Regions from separate parts of the Homo sapiens genome. Here region 2 is linked to region 1. Evidence: promoter capture Hi-C in human tissues and cell types (Jung and others, 2019). All regions are on one chromosome and are shown on one strand. Each heading gives the region's core, a stretch centred on a gene start or on the middle of the fragment in contact. The rest is flanking DNA. Distances are from core to core; before and after follow the strand shown.

Evidence for each region. The method cuts DNA at HindIII sites, captures the fragments that hold promoters and counts their contacts. A contact is called where the count stands out against the background at its distance.
Region 2: a fragment that was not itself captured here is called in contact with the fragment with the promoter of HS3ST3A1 in region 1 in 1 of the 25 tissues and cell types used here (mesenchymal stem cells).

Annotation. Positions count from the first base shown.
Region 1 is chr17:13,599,244-13,604,380 of GRCh38, forward strand. It overlaps HS3ST3A1 (heparan sulfate-glucosamine 3-sulfotransferase 3A1), which reads right to left and starts at 2,686. Exons shown (of 2, transcript NM_006042.3): 1 at 1,288-2,686. The coding sequence starts at 1,886. RefSeq lists an enhancer at 1,640-2,260 and a silencer at 3,109-3,403. The HindIII fragment of the contact is 10,594 bases long and covers 1-5,137 here.
Region 2 is chr17:13,964,161-13,969,297 of GRCh38, forward strand. No RefSeq gene overlaps it. Among named protein-coding and RNA genes, the nearest start is that of COX10-DT, 100 kb to the right of the region's middle. The HindIII fragment of the contact is 3,117 bases long and covers 927-4,043 here.

The sequences.
Region 1 (5,137 bases), core at 1,436-3,935:
TTCCAACAAATGGAAAGTTACTGTTTTAAAAGTGTTTAATGTTCAAATTCTATTTTTAGGGCCAAATCTTTTCTCTCTGAGTGGATTGACTGTAAATTCGGCTCCTGAAATCAATCTGAGACTGCAATTGGCCCCTCAAGTAAATAAACTTGTCAAATCATATCCATTTCTGTGTTGGGGATGAATGATTAATTTAATGGGCTTTTTGAAAATACCTAAATTATGTTGTAATTTTTGTAACTGTTTCAGTTAAAATAACAAAGAGAATGCATCTTTTATGAACAAGATAAACTTTATAAAATGGAAAATTCTAGCAACATAATTTTTACTGGTACTTTGAAGAAAGAAAAAAAAAGCCAATATATTATGGCAAACAAAATCCAGGCGACACTAGCTTTATTAGAATCTGGCTGATTTTATTATTAAAGGTGGTCTGAATTTGAAGAGACTGGCAAATTTAAGATTAAGATCTAAGCCAGACTTATTTCCTAAACTGTATTGGCAAAGTTGTGCCAATGTATTTTTCTCTCTGTTGTCTTCTTCTTTTAATTGGCTACCTTATTTGTAAAGAGGATTGAAGATCTTTAGAAAAGTTTCTGTCAGTCAAAAGACAAAAGTTACTTTTCCCTGCAAATATCAAAAGCACTTTACAAAACTCATTCCTTGCCCTCAAACAAAAGTTATTGCCAAGCGTCCTTTAAAATACAGTGCCTGGTTGCTTTCCCTTGCTCAGACAGACATATATTTTCCAAACTACCCAGATTCTCTGGTTCTTGACACTTTTACTAAGTCTCTATATTACTTCCCACCTAGGACAACTATCTGGCAAAAGGTCAAGGTAAATAAATACCTGATGGTAAAGACTGTGTTAACCACAAAGAACTTTCCAAAAGATAAAGAATGAAAACGGGCTTCCTTGGGAAGGAGAAGGCAATCTATTAATTGTTGAACAGGTTTCTAATTTAGAAGAGACTTTTTTTTTTTCCTTTAGTTAAATACATGAATACTTTCGCAGAGCAGGAGAAAGAGACCAGACTGGCTATTTGCTGGCAAGGGATTCCCAAGGATGAAAATTATGAAGGCCAGAATTTCCCTCCCACTCTCTCCTTCAACATCCACTTCCCAGGAAGGAGAAGGCGGAGAGGGAAGAAAGACCCTTGACGACCCTTCGCCTTCTGCATGAAGTGGGGAGGAGGGCGAACTGGGGGTCACCGAGGGCTCCTCCACGTCTTTCCCAGCCCAGGACCCCCGGATCCTTCAGCCCCAGCCCGGGCCCGCCCCGCTCACCGGTACCAGGCGAGGCCCTTGTCGTAGCTGCGGTCGAAGAAGTGGGGCTCGGCGCCCACGGCGCGCACGTCGGGGTGCACGCGCAGGAACTCCAGCAGCGCCCGCGTGCCGCCCTTCTTCACTCCGATGATGATGGCCTGCGGCAGCTGCTTGCTGCCTTCGTCCAGGAGCAGCGCCAGGGTCCCCGGCGGGGCCTCGGCCACGGTGCTTCCGGCCCCGGAGCCGCCCGGACCCCCTGACAGGCCAGGGGACTCTTCTTCCCAGGCCGCCTCCTCGCCGTCGTCGCGGGGCGCGGGCGGCCGGCGCCTCCGCCACTGCGGCAGTTGCAGGAGGCGCTTTCTCTGTGCCGCCGCCGGCCACACCGCCAGCTCCCTCGGGCCTCCGGCCAGGACGCCGCCACCAGGGGCCCCCGCCTCCTCGCCGCCGCCGGACAGCCCCACGACGGGGCCGGACAGGGTCTGGCAGCGCTCGGCCAGGCAGTAGAAGACGTAAAGGGACGTGAGCAGGGAGCAGAGCATCAGCAAGAACTTCCGGAAGATGCTGCGGGACAGCGGCTCGGCCGAGGTGGAGAGGGCACTGGCCGGGCCCGGAGGGGCCATCCTAGCCGGAGGCGACGTCGGGCAACGCGCCGGCCATGCTAGGCCTGGACCCCGACAGGTGCCAGAGCATCCCCCCGGCGGGCCAGCGCGCTGGACGGAGGCCACATCGCCGTGCGCCCCTGTGGCCGTGCGAACTGTCCCGGGAGGCAGCGGCCGGGGCTCCGCGGGGAAACGGAATCCCGGGGGCCCCGCGCAGGATCCCTGCCTCCAGTCGAGGGAGCGGGAAGGGGAACGCGGGTCCGTGCTTAAGAAACCATCGTCTTAGACTCGCCCAAGTCCTGAGCTTGGGGCAGCCTTGGCCCCTCGGTTCCCCGCAAGAGTCGCCGGAATCGGGGTCTTGGCAGCGGTGTCGAAGGCGTGCGTCTCAGCCCCGGCCCCGAGAGACTTCTCGGCGCGGATCTCCGCTCAGCGATCCTGCATCACTGGCTCGGTCCCCGTGAGGGCACGCGCGGCTGCCGGGCCTCTGCGCTCCGTGCGCTCCAGACAGTGGCGAGCGACAGTGACTTCCAGCCCCGGCTTTCTCTGGTCCCCTTGCCCGCCTGGGCGCGTTCTCTCCGCCCGAGTTCAGGTTCTCTCAGCCAAGGAGCGAGGTCCCCCCGAGTCCCTCTGCCCGAGCGGGAGACAGGAGGCCCGTGCAGAGCCGTCCACCCCTCTCCGTAGCGCCGGGTTGCTCCAAACTGCTCTTGGACCCCACCTGTGAGCCGCGTGGCTGGGCTGGGCTGGGCTGCGCGGGACCTGTCAGCGGCCCCCGCCACTCTGCTCGCAGGCGCTCACCGGCTGCCTCCTGGGCCGCCGCTGGCCGCCGCCACACGTGGGACGCCGAGGGCAGCAAACTTGCTGGTGACGTCAAAGGCCCGGGCCGGACCAGCCCCCGGACGAGCGCAGCGGGGCGCGGACCAGCGGCCAGGCGGGGCCAGACGGGCGGGGTGGGATGGAGAAAAGGTGGCGCGGGCTCCGCAGCAGCCGCCCAATGGCACTGGAGAGGGCGGGGGCGGCAGGGGCGACGCCCCTTCCCCAGTGTCCCCCATTCCTCCCCGCGGCTTCGCCCCCTTCCAGTGGATCCGGTGTCTGCGGCGGCTCCGGGGTTGCCTGAGTGACAGCTAAGGCCGGCCGGATCTCTGGGGGCCTGACTTCCACCCAAGACGCCACTAGCTTGGTGAGGGGCCCCAGAGCTCTCCACCGCAGCTCAGCCCTCCGCAGCCCTGACCCTCCCTCTCCAGGTTCCCCGCGCTCTGCTCCCCTCTTGGCACTGTTGCCCTATCCTTCCCCATCCCACTGCTTTCCATCGCCTGGAACCTACTCCTCGTCCCCTTGGAAGTTTTGTTTGCAGCAGTTCCCAGTACTGCGCTGCACGCCACGCCCCCGTTTGTCTGGAGCAAACCGAATTCCTCTGCAGCAGCTTGGACTTCTACCTACTCAACTGTCTGCTGCGGGTCTTGGAGCAAAGCTCTTTCTCGTATCAGTCTGTTTTTTGTTTGTTTGTTTTCTTTTCTTTTCTTATTTTGATTGTTTTCCCTTGGATTTGTATAAGATGATACAGTCCTCCAGGGCCTAGAAAGGAACAACCTCTTACGAAAAAAAAAAAAACCAATGCATAAATCAAAGGCAAAATTAAAATTTAAAAAAAATTCAACTCCGATTCCAAGTCCCTATGCCCAATTTTTAATGTAGTGTGTATTTCCTTAATGTTGTTTGTACTTTTGTGTGTGTGTGTGTGTGTGTGTGTGTGTGCGCGCGCGCGCATGCACGCTCGCAAAGAGGTTAAATGTCCTTTCATAAACTGCGGTTTCCTCTTTCCCTTGCCTCCCCTGACCCTATATCCTCTTCGTGCGCTCCCCGGAGAGCAGGTCAGGAAGGGATACAAACCGCCTTGCTGTCTAATGGAGGGAGGTGGCCCGTGGAAGCTGCATGAGGTGGTTTTTTGTTCTAATCCTATTTGTTCCTTATTTTTTGGCTTCCTTGCCTCCACAGGTTGCCTCACCATGTGGGCGGTAGCTTGGGAGCTTCTTACCAGCCCCTGCAAGCTGTGGAGGCAGCTTTCTGGGACCTCTGCGGGTGCTAACAAGGGCCCACCGCAGGCTCAAGGTCCACGGTGCAGGAAACTTACCAGGCATTTCTGCGTCCCCATGCAGGAACTTCGCAGCCTTTCTGTGCTCTATTTGACCACGGAAGTGGAAGTCAGCTTCCACTTTTTCAGCTTCCAAGGGGCACCTAGTGGTTCTAACTCTGGGCTTGCATGGATCCATGAATTTGTGCCCTGCTAGATAAATACTCACTGCTGGATATGGTTTATGGTTTTATGTTTATGAACTACCAATCCCAACTGATTCGACAACCAGTGAAGAGCTTTTTAGATTCTGATGCCGTAAAGCGCTGGGCGTTTACGAGGATGGACAAGCCCTGCCAAGCTGTAATGTCCTTTTGTGTTCTAAAATTGGATATTGACAAACCAGTTGAGATCTAATGCTAACTTAAACTTTCCTGTGTTTTCACATTTTTTCCCTAAGTACTTCAGTCAGATTTGCAGAAGGAAGACAACAAAACAAAGACCATTTTTAAGTTGTTTTGAAGGCATGCAGTCCCGTGAATGCTTATAAACATGCCCCAGTTTCCTGGACTGGAAAATGATGGACTCGAAGTTCCCTTCTAGCTCCAACATGACATCATAGCATGTGTTTAGTCTTTCACTTTCTGAGCACAGGTCTTTCCTTTACGTGGGTATTAAAGATGCTCGATGTAGGAAACATGGTTCTCACCATCACTTGCATGACATGTAGGGCAGCTCTGCACTTTAGAAGCAAAATGTGAGCCACAAATAAAAGCTGCATGGATAATTTTCAATTTCTAGTAATTTTTTTCTGTGTTTTTTGAAATGGGGTCTACTGTCACCCAGGCTGGAGTGCAATGGCACAATCTTGGCTCACTGCAACCTCTGCCTCCCGGGCTCAAGTGATCTTCCCACCTTAGCCTCCTGAGTAGCTGGGACTACAGGCATGTGCCACTACACCTAGCTAATTTTTTGTTGTTGTTTTTTGTAGAGATGGGGTTTTGCCATGTTGCCCAGGCTAATTTCTAGTAAATATTAGCACCTTACAAAAGGTTAAAAAAGAAGCAGAGAAAGTTATCTTTTCATAATATGTCCCATACATCCAAAAATGTGACTGTAACATGTAGTCAATATAAAAATGATTGAAGTCATGTATGTTCTTTCTTTTCATACTAAGTCTTTGGAATCCAGTGTGAATGTTACA
Region 2 (5,137 bases), core at 1,235-3,734, 360 kb after region 1:
TATGATTTGTTTCCATTTCAATAAATACTTGTTAAACAAATAAATGGCAGTCATCAGCAAATAGTTTGTTGTTACAGATCATCTGAGAGAAAATGTGTTGAGTGAGAAAGAAGGAGCCCTCTTAAGAACACCAGTATCTAAGGGTTGGGCAGAAAGAAAACAATAACAGAAAAAAAAGGAGATTGAGAAGAAACAATCTGATCTGATTAAATTGGAGAAAAACCAGAAAAGCACAGTGTCACAGACACCGAGATAAAAGTGTTTTAATAAGGAGAACCTTGTCAACAGTGCCAAATGCTGCCCAGAGGGGATTTCTTGCCTAAGGACTTAGAAGTGTTCCTTAACATGAGCTACAAGTAGGATGACCCTTGCAAGGGCAGGAGTAAAAGTCAGATTTCAACGAGTAGAAGTACAAGAAAAAAGTGAGAAAGTAAAGATAACAAGTAAAGATTACAGATAACTCTCAAAACAGATCTTTGGGGACCATAAGACATGCAATAGAGAGAAACTTTTATAAAGATTTGAAAATCTCAAGCATATTTAAATATGGACAGAAAGAAGCCAGTCAAGGGTTGGGTGGAAGATCCAGAGGAAGAAATGTCAGGCAGAGCACAGATGCAGATATTAGACCCACATCTGAGAAAGATGCCCGTTCCCTTATGACAACAAGGCAGGAGGATAATATATCTGTGGACCAGCGTGGGTGAGCATGTTTTTATAGACATAGTTGGAAGTATCAAAAAACTAAAGGATTTGAAATCGCTACAGTAAGTTTTGGAGGAAAAAGATAACTTAGGAATGGAGAAGAATGACCTGTCAGCACTGAGAGCCTTGTTAAGCTTGGAGACCTCACAGTTATGAAAACACAAAGCCTAGGGGTGAGGGTAAACAGAGGATGGATCCAGGCTTGCCTGTTGGCGTGACAGTCCCAGGTGATAACCAGTGATACTTGGGAGATTCTCACAGCTCCTCTGGCTCTGCCCACTCTGCACCAAAGCAGCCACAACGCAAAAGCTTTCTCTTCTACTTTTTCTACAGAAGGGAAAGAAATAAGCCTCTACTGCACTTATTGGAATAAATTCCCTTTCTGCTTCTCAGTGCCAACTTTTAAATCGTGGGCTTGGGGAGTGAAGAATCCTAAGGTTTCCTTCCTCGTACTGAGATGGGATTGTTCCCTTGACCCCCTTCATGGGTAGAAATTGGAGTGGCTCCTTTCACTCAGCCGGCCTCTGGCCACTCCAGGCAAGAGGGAGCAGGCAAGCAAGCAAGTCCAGGAACTAGAGGGAATGAAGGCTGAAACCAGCCAGTCGCTCCTCTCTGGTGGGAGCAGGCTCTGTGCCGCCCTGCAGCAGCGTCCAAGTCCCTGCTCTCCCAACACCTAGGTTCTTGTCCGGTGTCCAGAAAAAATCAGGTTGTGCAAATGGATTGAAGGGTAGTGTATGTGGAGGATTTTATTGGGTGATGGCTGTCATCAGGATGGGAGTTGGAAAGGCGATGGTGCAGAAAGAAGACGATCTTTCCCTAAGCCACACCTCTGAAGTTATCCACGTCTATCCATAGTCTGCAACACTCAGCCACTCATATCCCCGACGTTCAGCAGCTTGGATCCCCAATGCCCAGCTGCTTGCATCCCCAACCGCTTGCATTGACTATTTGCATCAGCCACTGTGTTGCTCTGCCAGCTGAAGTCTTTTCATGGGCACAGGATAGGGGCACGGCAGGCCAGAAAAGCAACATTTGGGCAGACAAATGGGGTCAGCTTTTTTGCACTTAGGGTGGTGGTTCTAGGCTTAGGGGTGGGGTCTAGTGGGGAGCCTGGAGCCCAGTCATTCTATATCATCTCCCCGCTCTGAAGAGGCACATCTAAGTGCCTTTAGAATATGGACAACGACCGGTCTTAGCTACTTCCTGCTGAAAGGGGACACTGTTTGCAGAAAATGGCAATCAGATTCCTCCCAGAGATTTACCTAAGGATCCCCGGCAAAAGGGAGCCATCGTCCGAGGCTCTGGCTGCCTGCCTATTTGGAGCCCTGATGGCCTCCAGGAGAGAGAAAAAAACAAGCTTTACAAGGTTAAATATGCATGGATCAAACGTGCATTATGCAAGGAAAGAATTTATTGCCAAAGATTACAGAAATAAGAAGTGAAATATACTAACAAGATTGTACCCCAAGCTGTCTCACCCCGGTGAAAAAAATTAAATCTTGTATGGGAGTGGTTACACTTTGAGAGAGAGAACTGTTCTTGCCACATCTGTAGTGGTTAACAGGTGAACGTTAGGAATTCTGGGGTTCATGGGCTTGCACGGTGGTCATTAAAGCTTCTGCCTCTTTCTTATATCTAAAAGACCAAGGTGGCCACTTTCAGGAGATCCTCTAAAGTACTATCTAGACCCAGGGTCTGTTTCTGAGTAGAAACTGGAGATGATAAAGTTTGTTGGTTGTCCATTCTGAAAGACAGGCAATTTGGGGCATCCCTCATTCCCTTCCTTCTTTTAGCAAAAACTTGGGGTGTGAGGGAGAAAGAAAGAGGGTGTTCCCCCCTTTTCTTTTCTATCTCCATCCCCGAGTCCCAGTGACCTTGGCAGGTGCCACCCATGGGTGCCAAAGCGGCTTGCACCGATGAAGCAGGGGGGCCTAGCGGGTGGGAGTACCCGCTCTTATCCACATACACCCTATCTCCCCTGCTGTCAACAGCTTTAAGTTCCCTGGTTCTCACCTATGCCATGGAGCATGGCCTTCTTCCATGAAGCAGGGTTTTTGTTGGCAGGAATTGATCCTGCCCATTTACATTGCGCATGTTGCCTGGCTTTGGATCCCTCAGATCTCGTTTTCCTTTCCAGGGCCTCAACCTGAAGCTTGGAATCAAGTTTGAGATTAAAAAAGGGTATTTGAAGGGCTGCAGAGATTCACTTAGATTAAGTCCCACAGGCTTTGGCAAATTTACAGCTACCAGCCACGAAGGTTTCCTCCTCTGTCATTTTCCTATCATAAGCAGAGTGCTGAGGTAGGAAGAGAACCCTCTCCCTTAGAAAAACAGAAAAACAACTTAAAGGGCATAAGGGCAGTGGGTGGGGTTGAAGGAAGAGCCTCTGCTCTGTGGAAATGGGTTCCTTTAATCACTGTATCCCTTCCCCACTTCAGACCAGCTAGACCTCCATAAAGGGAAAAAGAGCCAATATTCCTTTTACCAGGTGGAAAGAGAGAGGTGGCAGGGTCTTGAAAAAAAGGCAGATCCGACAGGCCCGCATGTTAACTAACCATCTGTTGTATCCCAGATGGGCCCCTAGATGAGATGGGATTGTTCCCTTGGCCTCCTTTGTGGGCAGAAACTGGAGTGGCTCTTTTCAGTCAGTCCGCCTCTGGCCACTCCCAACGAGAGGGAACATTGAGAGCAAGTGATTGTGGGAACCAGAGGTAACAAACGCTGGATCTGTCCAGTCACTCCTCTCTGGTGGGAGCAGGCTCTGTGTGTGTGTGGCCCGCAGCAGCGTCCAAGCCTCTGCCCTCTTGGCACCTGGGTTCTTGTCCAGCATCCAGGAAAAATTAGGTCACATGAACGTATTGAAGGGTAGTGTAGCGTATGTGGAAGATTTTATTGGGTAATGGTTCTCAGTGGGATGGGAGTGGGAAAGGGTATGGTGTGGAAAGAAGATCTTTCCCTGGGGCCACACCATCTGAAGTTAGCCGCTTCTATCCTTAGTCTCCACCACTCAGCCACTTGTATCCCCAATGTTCAGAAGCTTGTATCCCTAAAGCTCAGCTGCTCGCATCCCTAACCACTAGCATCATCCATTTGTGTTGCTCTGCCAGTTGAAGTCTTTTTATGGGCACAGGATAGGGGCGTGGCAGGCCAAAATGCAACATTTGGGTGGAAAAACAGGGTCAGGTGTTTTCACTTAGGGCCGTGGTTCCAGGTTTAAGGGTGGGGTTTAGCCAGGAGCCCAGCCATTCTGTATCACTACTTTGGAGTGGCAACACTGGGATAGGCAGCCTCTGATAAAACTATCCTTGACCTGAAAAAGCTAGAGATAAGAAGGACATGAACTGAGATGGGTCTTTTGTCACATGAGCCAGGTCTTATTTTTCTTTATTGCTGTAGAAACTGTTCATCTTGGCTTTATTTTCTGTGAGTTATTATTCAATTTTATAAAAGAAACACAAACATGTTATGTATGTATGTTTATATGTGTGCATATATATATGTGTATATATGTGTATATATATGTGTATATATATGTGAATATATATATATATTCTGTGCAAAGATCCTGTAGACAAACTAGTTACATGCATAGGAAAAAGACTTAATGGATATATGAAATATGATAGTAGAAAATGAAAGCTTTTCTTCTTCATATTTGAGCCATGAACATGTACTCATTTGTAATGAGAAGAAAATCAATAAAATGTATTTTTAAAGTCAACACATTTGAACAAATATTTTTCTAGCAGCCACGTTCAAAAAACCATATTCTGGTCTCATTTCTTTGCATTCAGGAAGCACTTTTCAAATATATCTTCGACGTTCCTGATTTGATTTTCATAGAATAATTCTGCTTTGAATGAATTTTTAAATTCCATTAGAGCATGTTTACTTACCTGAAATTCTTTCCTTATCTAATTTCTTTATAATTTCTGATTTATCTCAATCTGTTCCCCTCTCAGCTCAAATTTCTTATCATTCATCTTTCATCTCATTTGTCCATGTTTCCTTGAGCCGTGAGAGTACAAGGCACATGCTGGTGAATAGTTTCTTCTGTTTATTGCAGTAATATTTTAAAAACGATATTTCCTTCTATTTTTTCCTTTATGTTATAGCATTACTTCATAGGCTCCCTACTGGTTTGCATTTAATTTCCTCATCCTTAAATGATAGGAGATACATCAAGAACTATTTATTCCAAGATAAGGCATTCTGCACACTGTCTGCTTGCAAGCTGTTAAACGCAGGGTCTGAGATGTGAGCCTCCAATTTTGAACCAGTTCAATGATTCCCAGCATTGTGGGAAGAGTGGGCCAGAGGAAGTTCCCCTCAGCCAGGAGGTGTTCTGGTTTTCAGTGAAGTCTGTATGCTGGGGGCCAGACAGTATAGCTTGACTTCCTTTTAATTTCTTTGGTAAGAAGTCCTGACCCAG